2 separate regions of the Homo sapiens genome follow, and region 1 is linked to region 2. The links are contacts of gene promoters, found by promoter capture Hi-C in human tissues and cell types (Jung and others, 2019). All regions are on one chromosome and are shown on one strand. Each heading gives the region's core, a stretch centred on a gene start or on the middle of the fragment in contact. The rest is flanking DNA. Distances are from core to core; before and after follow the strand shown. Region 1 overlaps SUPT20H (SPT20 homolog, SAGA complex component). Region 2 holds the start of POSTN (periostin).

Evidence for each region. The method cuts DNA at HindIII sites, captures the fragments that hold promoters and counts their contacts. A contact is called where the count stands out against the background at its distance.
Region 1: a fragment that was not itself captured here is called in contact with the fragment with the promoter of POSTN in region 2 in 1 of the 25 tissues and cell types used here (dorsolateral prefrontal cortex).

The regions. Positions count from the first base shown.
Region 1 is chr13:37,015,628-37,021,050 of GRCh38, forward strand. It overlaps SUPT20H (SPT20 homolog, SAGA complex component), which reads right to left. Exons shown (of 26, transcript NM_001014286.3): 22 at 3,715-3,770; 23 at 1,618-1,737. Among named protein-coding and RNA genes, the nearest start is that of EXOSC8, 18 kb to the left of the region's middle. The HindIII fragment of the contact is 7,415 bases long and covers 1-5,423 here.
Region 2 is chr13:37,594,835-37,600,182 of GRCh38, forward strand. It overlaps POSTN (periostin), which reads right to left and starts at 3,934. Exons shown (of 23, transcript NM_006475.3): 1 at 3,774-3,934; 2 at 2,350-2,448. The coding sequence starts at 3,892. RefSeq lists an enhancer at 154-803. The HindIII fragment of the contact is 6,079 bases long and covers 3,348-5,348 here.

The DNA of each region.
Region 1 (5,423 bases), core at 664-3,163, 580 kb before region 2:
CTTCTTAAAAAATTAAAAATTACCACATGAACCAGCAATCCAACTTCTGGGTATATATCCAGAAGAGTTGAAGACAGGGTCTCAAAGAGATAATTGTACACTCACACTCACACTAGCATTATTTACAATAGCCGAAAGGTGGAAGATACCCAAGTATCCATCAGTGGATGAATGGATAAACAAAATATGGTATATACAAGTATTATTCACCATGAAAAAGGAAGGTGATTCTGACACATGCTATAAAATGAATGACCCTTGAAGACTTTATGCCAAGTGACATAAGTCAAACACAAAAGGACAAATAACTATATAACTGCACTTATATGAGGTATCTTGAATAGTCAAACTCATACTAACATAAAGTAGAATAGTGGCCGAGGGGAGGAGTTGTTATTTACCAGATATAGTTTCAGTTTTGCAAGATGAAAAAGTTCTATAATAGAAATCTGTTGCATAACAATGTGAATACACTTAACACTGCTGAATTGCACACTTAAGAAGTTAAAATGGTAAGTTTTGGCCAGGCACGGTGGCTCATGCCTGTAATCCCAGCAGTCTGGGAGGCTGAGGTGGGCGGATCACGAGGTCAGGAGATCAAGACTATCCTAACATGGTGAAACTCCGTCTCTACTAAAAATACAAAAAAAAAATTAGTCGGGCGTGGTGGCACATGTCTGTAGCGACAGCTACTCGGGAGGCTGAGGCAGGAGAATCGCTTCAACCCAGGAGGTGGAGGTTGCAGTGAGCCAAGATTGTGCCATTGCACTCCAGCCTGGGCAACAGCGCGAGACTCTGTCTCAAAAAAAAAAAAAAAGTTAAAATGGTAAATTTTATGTGTACCTTAAAATTAATTTTTTTAAAAGAAAATCAAAGATTTTATATCTAGCCAAGCAATCTTTAATGTGTTTAGAATGAAAAAACAGTAAGTTTTTAATGTGCCCTTCCTGAGGACTCTATTAGAGGATGAGCTTTATCCAACCAAGACCTGACTGGGGGAAACTGGGCAAAAGGACTAATGGTGAATATTTCATATAATTTGTGAGATAGAGAAACTCTGGATTTGGGACTCAGGAATCAATATTTTTTTAATTTCCCAGATGACTCCAGTGTACCCAAAGTTTAGAAACACTTGTACTTCCTTCTTCTACTGTCATTTATTGCAATTCTTATTCAATTTCTTTCCCTTTGGCAGTGTACACATTTGTTTTTGTCTGTGTTCCCACTGCCCTACATTTTATGATAATAGGGATATCTTTATTCCAATAGCAACAAAATCCTAAAAACAGAAAGATAATGATGGGGTAGAAAATACATGAGTGATAGGGGCACAAAGACCTAGGTTTGAATCTCTGGCTCTGCCACTCACTGTATGGCTAAGAGCAAGCCATTTATCTGGATCTCAATCATCTATGCAAGATGCAGGTGATACCATCTATTCAGTATGGTATGACTGTTTTATTAGGAATACACACCCAATAGCTGATTGCTACTATTGTTAATAAAAACAGTACAGGAAATGTTTACACTAACAAAGCAAATGAAGTATGCTTGGAATATACCAAAAAATGTTATAAATTCGATGTAAAAGCATATGGAAGGCTAGAAAATCCATACCTGCTCCCCTGGCTGTTGAGGACTACAAGTTGTGGGCTGCTGAGGTTGTTGTGGTGTAAACTGGGAGAGCTGCTGTTGCTGCTGCTGCAGAGTGTTAAAAATAAGTGAACCACCTGGAAGCTATTAAGAATTTAAACAAAAATTAACCAATTTCACATGATTTTATATCAAATATTTAAATTTATTCTACAAATATTTTTGGATCATTTGCTATGTGTCACTCTTCTAGTTATTGAAGAAACAGGTAAAGAAAAAACAAGTTGGCTGCCCTTAAAAAAAAGACCTATTTAGAAACTGTTTTTAAGTCCTATTACTTTGGGCTCCCAAGTATGCTAATACTCTTAAACATAAATTTTTCTGCTTCAAGCTAGTAGTTAGCTATTCCAATTCACATGCTATTTTTCATTTCACTCTTTTTATACATCAATACAAAAGAGCACTAAATACATTAGAAAGTACAAACAAGCAGCTTATGAATCAGAAATGTATACTACGAAAAGCCACCCCTCATAAATTTGTTCTAGTTTTGCCAAAAACACAAATATTATACAAGATCTTTTGTATAACACAGTGAGGAATTTCAAAGCTGAAAAGAAAGTGCATTTAGATGTCCATATTTATTCTGTAGACCACTACTTTCTCTTTCATTCAAATCTAATTTGAATTTAATCCAAATTAAAAAACAATTTTTAAAGAAGCACTCAGAAAACTCCAGGTTAAAAGGGAAAACAATGCTTTTCAAATGCACCAAAAAACAAACAGTTTTTCCATTTTAAGCTATAGGGGTTTATATACGGACCACTTTGAGGTCCTTAGGAGAATGTCCAAGACAATACCAAATACAGAACTCTTAGGTCTGTATAGTCAAAAAAATAATAATAAAAAAAAAATAAAAAATCCTTGGGTCAAAGTATCTATCTATATCCATCACAGCTCATCATTAGGTAAATCTAGACACAGCACAGATCAAATGTTCCTTCCTCAATCAGTATACAGTAAATGTAGAAAAATATAACAAACTAAAGGATTTCCATTCCTGTTAACACTGAGACTGATCCCTAAGAAAATTTCAAAAGCAATATGCCGGAAGGTAGGCTAAATAAACAAATGCAATTTGTGGGCTTGCCCATATTATAAGTATATTGTTCTGCAATTAGTCTGTAAACATACTGCATCGTATATAGGAAACAAGTTTTAAATTTTAGCTCTAATGAGAATTTCCCGATTTGTTAATCCTGAATACCAGGGTGGCTGATCTGTTATTGTTATTTCCCATCAATCCATAGCTCTACTATGTTACATATCCAGATCTTTATAGTCACGTCTATCCATTTTCCAAACTACTAGCTTAAAGCTTACTCCTTCTTTAAATTAGAGGACCTAGCATAACACGAGGAATGTTGTAAATTCACCCCCCTTGTTTTTCTTTTGAGGCAGGATCTTACTCTGTTGCCTAGGCTGGAATGCAGTGGCACAATGTCAGCTCACTGCAGCCTCGACTTCCTGGGCTCAAGTGATCCTCCGACCTCAGCCTCTTGAGTAGCAGGGATTACAGGTGCATGCTACCACGCTTGGCTAACTTTTTGTAGTGATGGGGTTTTACCATATTGCTCAGGCTGGTCTCGAACTCCTGAGCTCAAGCAATCCACCCACCTGGGTCTCCCAAAGTGGTGGGATTCTAGGTGTGAGCAACCATGTACGGCCCACATACCTATTTTTTAAATCTCCTTCAAGCACAAAAAAAAACCAGTATTACATATATGTATACATAAAACATCTGTTGGGAAAGCAATTATTTTCTAAATACATCCACTATTATTATTGTAGGGAAGTATCCTCCTTGGTAGGTGCAAATTCTCCCCACTAGCACAGCTAGTTCTTAATTAGGCAGGGCTACTGGAGCCAAAGTGTGGTATATAGGATACTGATTCTTTCTCTTTATCCGCTTGATCATACAAAGGTAGCAATAATAACCACACCCTTAGAAGAATCTAAACAGACCTCAGAATTTCAAGTGCTGATACATATAGATATACATTGTTTAGAAAAAAAGTCAATGTACAAAAAATTTAATCAAAAGCAGTATTTCAGGTTTACCTGGAGTAGATTTAAGGGCCTGAGACTTGAAGTATTTTTTAAACCAAATGGAACACCTGTTAAATAAAACTCATGGTTATAACAGAATTGAAAGTTTATTACACATGAAAATAATTTATACTTTAGTATATATAAGTACAATAATTTTATGTATTCTCTGCATAGATGTGCTTATTTTCCATACTTCAAAAATATCTTAAAAACAAAAGATTGTCTTCAATATTTATCAATACTGAGATTTTATTCAAAGTTGTGAAGCACCAGATGCACATTATATTCTATATTTCAGAAACTGGGACTTCTTTTTCATTCTTCTGACTGTTGGCTGAACAAAGAGTAATCAAGAATTATGTGAACACCATGAATATAACAAAACTATCACTGCTGTGCAAATACATTCCAGGTATTGGCATCTATTTACATTTCTCAATGCTACATAGTATACTATAATAATCATATCTCTAAGAACCGGTGTGCTTTATGCTATTTTTTTTTAACTAAAAATGTTAATCAGAATGCTAAAGAATGTTGCAATTTGTGTATAAAGATCAAAACAGAGTCAGGAAACAGTGCTCTGTTAATTTAAACTTATTCCTAAAAAATCTGTTACATTAACACAGAGCATATCTTAAAGCTGGGGGTGACAAACGTTTTCAATAAAGGGCCATCATGTGGGCTTTGTGAGCACAAATGGCCTCTGCTGCATTTTCTTTTCATAATCCTATAAAAATGTAGTAACCATTTCTAGCTTAGGCTGTGTGCTGTAGTTTGTTGATCCTGGTCTCAAGGTATGTATATATTTTGCTAACAAAATATACTAATTTGAACACTATTTAAAAATGTATCTAGTTCTCTATCATATCATTTTTTTTTTTTAAAGATTTAAGGGAAGAAATGCACATGTAACACTAGCGAAGCCTTGTATAAGAAACTGAAATTTGGCAAAAATATCCCTTTCTGGAAAAATTCTCATTTAAGAAAATGGCTTAACCCCCTTTTAAAAGTGGATGACATCTGTATAATGCTTTCTAGCTTACCAAAGGCACTTTCATACTTCATTTAGTTCTCTTAAGTACCAACTGGAGATATTTTTATTCCCACTTTAGAGCAAACTGAACTGAGGATAAGGGGGAAAAATTTAGTGACTTCTGTAGAACCCCAGTTTAGCAACTGAAGCCACATGTAACTGGTACAACTAGTAGTTACATGTAAATATCCTAAGTTCAAGATGTGAAGTCCATTTCCAGGACTTCTCGCACTAAGGCACACTTATGCTTATTAAAATAAGAACACTAGCTAGAATTAGGAAATTACAGCAACATGTTAGCATGTTTAATTATATTCTCTAGGTTCTCTTTCTCATAACTAAGAAAGTTTTTAATAAATTTTTCTAGATTGTTTTTCCTATTACATTTTTCTTCAAGTGAAACTGAATCGTTTCAAGATATTATAATACATTATTTTAAAGAGCATCAAAAAAATAAGCACAAGTTATTATAACTGTTTTCCTGTATAGGTAATAACTACTCCTAAATAAAAGAATGCTTATCATGTCTCAGGCACAGTTTAAACACATAATTTGTATTATATTTCATTTAATCCTCACGACTATGAGGTAAGTTTTTATTGCTATTCCCATTTTATTTATGAGGAAAATTAAACACAAAGGTAACTTTCTCAAGATGACACAAATGGTAAGCTGTACAACT
Region 2 (5,348 bases), core at 2,684-5,183:
AGCAAGCAGATGGCAGACCAGTCAGTCTTCCTGTCAATAGTATTGATTTCTTTGGTTATTTGAAATTAGCATTTACATTTATTTCAGTGCCCAGACGTAACTATGTTTTTGAAAATGAATCTACTTTAGAAAAATAAGCTAATACAATTGAACAAAGGAGACACTGTTACATTTCTGGTTAAAAAAAAAAAAAGCCAGGCTTCAAAGTAGTGATTTTTTTTTTTTTAATGGAAAGCAAGAAAGAATTTTGGCATAGCCTCTGTACAAGCCTTGACATCTCTCATATATTTAGATGGTTAAAGTAAATTTATGGCATTCTTCTCTATCTTCTAGGAAGGATGTAATAAGCATTCTCCCTAACATTTCAGGGTGAAGGTCCTTTCTTATCTAGTTAAGTGTGCATTTCAAATATGCTTCATGGTATCCAAGAATATAAATAACAAAGAGGAAAACTCAGAGCCTTAGAGTCCCTACTGGGGCCTAGCTTGCAGCATGGCAGAGATCATTGTAACAACTGATTGCATTATAATTGTGTGAATGACTCACAAGTCTAGCAGAAGTCTGCACAATAATAGGAATAATGTTCAGGTCAAAAGATAACATCATGTTGAAACTCTATTAAGCCAATGAGCAGGAGATGGTCAGCAAAGTCCTCTGGTGCCCTAGACTTGGTTACCATGTGGAGATGCAACCCAGCTAAGCTTAAATGCCTTGTATACATGGTTCTTACTTAGAAATAAAGACAATCTTGTGCATTTCAAATAGGCATCTGGTCACAACTTCCTTTCCTGTCTACATCTATGCATTTGTTTAAAAGAGTTTAATTTTAAGAACAATTGATATTATGCATTATGGTTACTTAGTAATTTCACATTTATCAATTCATTTTATTTTCTCAGAAACTCTATAATATAGCTATTAAATCCATGTTTTACAGGTAAGTCTACAAGAAGTTAAGTGATTCCATATTTAGTATCTTTTTTTTTTTTTTTTTGAGACAGAGTCTCACTCTGTTGCCCACTCGGGAGTGCAGTGGTGCCATCTCGGCTCACTGCAACCTCCACCTCCTAGGTTCAAGCGATTCTCCTGCCTCAGCCTCCCAAATAGGTGCCTGCCACCACATCCGGCTAATTTTTGTATTTTTTTTTACTAGAGATGGGGTTCACCATGTTGGCCAGGCTGGTCTCGAACTCCTGGCCACAAGTGATCCACCTGTCTCAGCCCCCCCAAAGTGCTGGGATTACAGGTGTGAGCCACCACTCCTGGCCCATGTTTAGGATTTATACCAATATTATTAACTTAGAAATAAGTTTCTAATAAATTATTCCACCCGAACTTAGGGTAACTGAATTTTAATGCTGATGTATTAAGCAGGTTCTTCCTGGGGTCTTTTGATTCTCAAGGGATCCTTCACTGAGGGTGGACTTCAAATTAATAGGAAGCAGGAAGGAGCCACTTGCACTGTTTTCTTGACTGGGGATGACACCTAAACCTTTCTGATTGCATTACTTGCCCTATTTATGACTGGTCTCCCTCATTGTAAAATAAAGACTTTGGATCACAGGAGTGGTTCTTGACCTTAATAAGTCCAGAGTGTTTATTACTTTTTTCCACCAATATTTATTGGTAAAATAAACCAGAAGGCATGTCTATTAAGTAATAAATAATGCTTTCAAATTTTAAGCTAATCAGTGAAACATATGTTAAAACATAATCATCCTTTGGGCTATTGAGATATTAACTATAATGATGAGCTTCCGTTATCACCTTGTGGACCTCTGGGGATGGAGCATCTTGAACGGAGAATCACTGGATTAAATAAAGAGATAAAACTCAAGTATTTTTTAACTTTAAACTTTGATGAAAACTCTCCGGTAAACTGGAATACTTTAGACAATTTCCAAATGACTAGAGACAAACATTAACTTTTTGCCTCAGAAACTCTGATATTTTAAATCAGTTTGTTTTTCTGGCCCACTTTTTTATAAAATGAGGAAACTAAGTCACAGAGGTTAAGTGACTTGCCTAAGATAAAAGAGGGCCAAACCAGGAGTAGAAACAACATCATTTACTCACACGGATTCTATACCCAATCCTGAGCCATGTGATCTGCTTCCTTCTGGCCTCCATGTCACATGGATTCAGGAAGAAATCTGAGTTCTAATAGTAATATTGGAGATGCAGGGAGAACTTCTTTATTCACGTATGTATTCCTTTCTTTTCTTTAAATAACTCTCACAATTTTGGTCAGTATTTTCAAGAAGAATGGTGTGTACACCCAGGGGAAGGCATATACATCATGATGTTGTTTTTGGAACTGACATATTATGAAAAAAAAAAGAGACTTACGTTTTCTGTCCACAGATGGACTTTTTATACCAGTTCTTACAAGTGCTGAAGTATTTCTTTTTGGTGCCCAAAATCTGTTGAAGGGCACAGACATTTGGGCTGGAGGATAGAGGGAAAGGAAAAAAGTTAATGTCCTAATAATGACTAGTTTTTCGTATCTAAAGATTGGTTGATAGAAGAAAATGTTGAGATGTGGATTTGATATCCAAAGACATGATTCTAGCCTTGCACAAATCTAATTATTGACACAATCCTACTGAATTGTTGAAAAACCGAAAGTCTACAGGAGGTGGCAGGGAGAGAGAGAAAAATTATACATTTCTGAGAGTAAAATACAAGCTTTTCAAAAAGTTAACCAACTAGGACTATTCAAACAGTATGAACGTAATTTTATTTCTATGTGCCTTATTACTTTTAATGGTAGATAATCTACTGACCCTTTTTAAACCAAGCATGTGCTCATTTGGAGGATGGCCATAACTTCAGGGCTCTCTGGAACAATGAGAGGTCAGAGAGCAAAAGAGACAAGGTTTATTATGTACACAGACACTATACTCTGTAATTTTCTAGGTAAGTAATCACAGAAGTAAATGTGCTAAAATTAACTTTGAAACAATATGGTTGCACAAAGGAGAATTTATCTTTTTGAATGGAAGTAACAGATCAGAACATCCTCTGTCACAATTTTAAGGTTCCCCTTCCCCTCTTAAAGGGACAGAAGTCTTTTTTCACTGTAAGTCAAAGAAGCTTGTGAACATTATGAAAATTCCTGTGAGGCATAGGAAGAAGTGCCAAGATCCGCTTAAAAAATTATAAATGGTTGGATAAGTTACAAAATTATGTGTAATTTTAAAAATGCTTAGTTGTAGTTGCATTAGTTCTATAAAATATAAATTACCTTTGCAAATTTTACAGAATTCAGAGTTTAAAAGTAACTTAAATGCTTCAAAGAATTCAGAGAACTAGTTACATTACCCAGTATTTAACCTTCATATGTAATTTAAATAAAATTTTCTCTAACATCATGTGAGATATTTCAATGCTGTTTGCATACATATGATAGTTCCTAACAATAGATTTTTTAATTTTGAAAACTCAATTTCAGATTTTTGGAAGAAAATAAAAACATAAATAAATGGAATTATAAAAGAATGCCCAGCTAAATTGTGTTAATTAGATTAGAATTATATAACATTTCATAAGAAAGCAATTATATTCAAGGTATTTAGAGAGCAATTAAGTCTTAAAGCTTAAAAGTGCATAGATAAATCACAGAATACTCACATTTTCCTTTTTTTCCTATTACTTTATAATAATTAGGAAAAAAAACCCTGAGGCATATATGAGAAACTTTATGCATACTTGAACATCTAACAAGCTGAGGAAAAAGAAAAATGGTTTATAAAACCAAACCACTCACTTACCCTTGGTCCCGACCCCTGATACGACTATGAGCCAAGATCTTGTCATAATGATTGTTGGCGTTTATAGGGTTAACAATAAGCAGCAATAGTAGAGAAAACATGGGTAAAAAGGGAATCATCTTGAGTCTCTCCGTTGCAGTTAGTCCCCGAAGAGAACTGGCAGTGGGCTTTGGAGAGCTCAGAATTTATATACATGTCAGAGTTGTGGGAGGGAACACTGCATCAACCTGAGAGTCTGAACTCTTTCCAGGAAGCATCGGCAACTTCAAATTGCCAGCTAAGATTTGTTTTGGTTAGTTATATTTAAGGAACACATTGAGCTACTTTTCCTTTTCATTATAAAGAAGGTACTTATTTTTAATCATATGAACAATTGACTCACTGCATGTTTAAGTCTCAGTTTTATTCCTTTGTATCTTAGAGGGTTTTTAAGAAAAATTCTTTTGTTGAGTTTTAAGAGATATTCTGCAATCCTTTCCAGAGTAGAATGTATAATGTCTGTGTGCTCAAGATTATTGTTAGGTGTTATTGCAGTTCACATCAGAACTGAAAGATTATTATTATTATTATTTTTACCAGAAAACAAAGGTAGATGCGAGTCTGACAATCACAAGGGGGTAAAGGCTGTTGATTAAAAACAAACTCTGGATAGATTTAAAACTTGTGTAAGATATGAAATAAGAATTCTAACTTGCTGAAGAACCATGTAGGAGAGTCCATATTTTCCTTGCTATCGTACAAAAAGGAGAGCTACCTCTCATTTCCTTTCTTTTTCAAATATCAAGGAACATATAGAGTTAACATAAATCTACTCTGACAAATTTCTCTAAGGTTTGAAATGAAGCAGAAAGGAAAAACATTTGTGCTTTATTGTTTTTCATGACACACTTTATGTGATGTTGAACATGTCTATGCAGCACATCTACTGATAACCACTGGTGAAAAGCAGCCAATATTGGAAGCAAGTGTTACGAATCTAGAGATAACTAGAACAATTAAATACATATTAGGAAACATGGACATTGCCAAAATGATTCTTCTGATTTTATCAAGAATAACTAAAGCCTTTCAATGTTACACTATGCAATCCCTAGCCAAAGGAATGTGCGTTCTTACTACTCCATGCATATGTCAAATGTTCAGAAAACTTTGGATAAAAGAAATCTGAATATCAGAGGGAAACAATGAGCTGAAATGGTAACCACAATCAGCTTCCTTGAATAAACAAGCTGCACACCATCCTAAAGTGTAATTCCAATCCATTTTGCTACAAGATGCTCCCTCTGTAATGTCATATCCATGTTCTTTTCCCACTGGTGAGGTAGAGAGATTTTGTCAGAATTCTCCTTGTTGTTCTATTGGGAAGGCTTTAGGGGAACTGGACTGAACTAGAGAGGATTCTGAGTATCCTGAGTTATGCTTAAACTCACTATGGGATATTAAAATATTCTACAACTTGCTGCTTAGTTTATTAAGAAAGCACACAGTGAAACCACAAATGCTGAAATATGATCGAGAGGCCATTTCAATATGAAAATCTTGGGATTAAGTTATAGAAAATGAAGGGGCAATTCA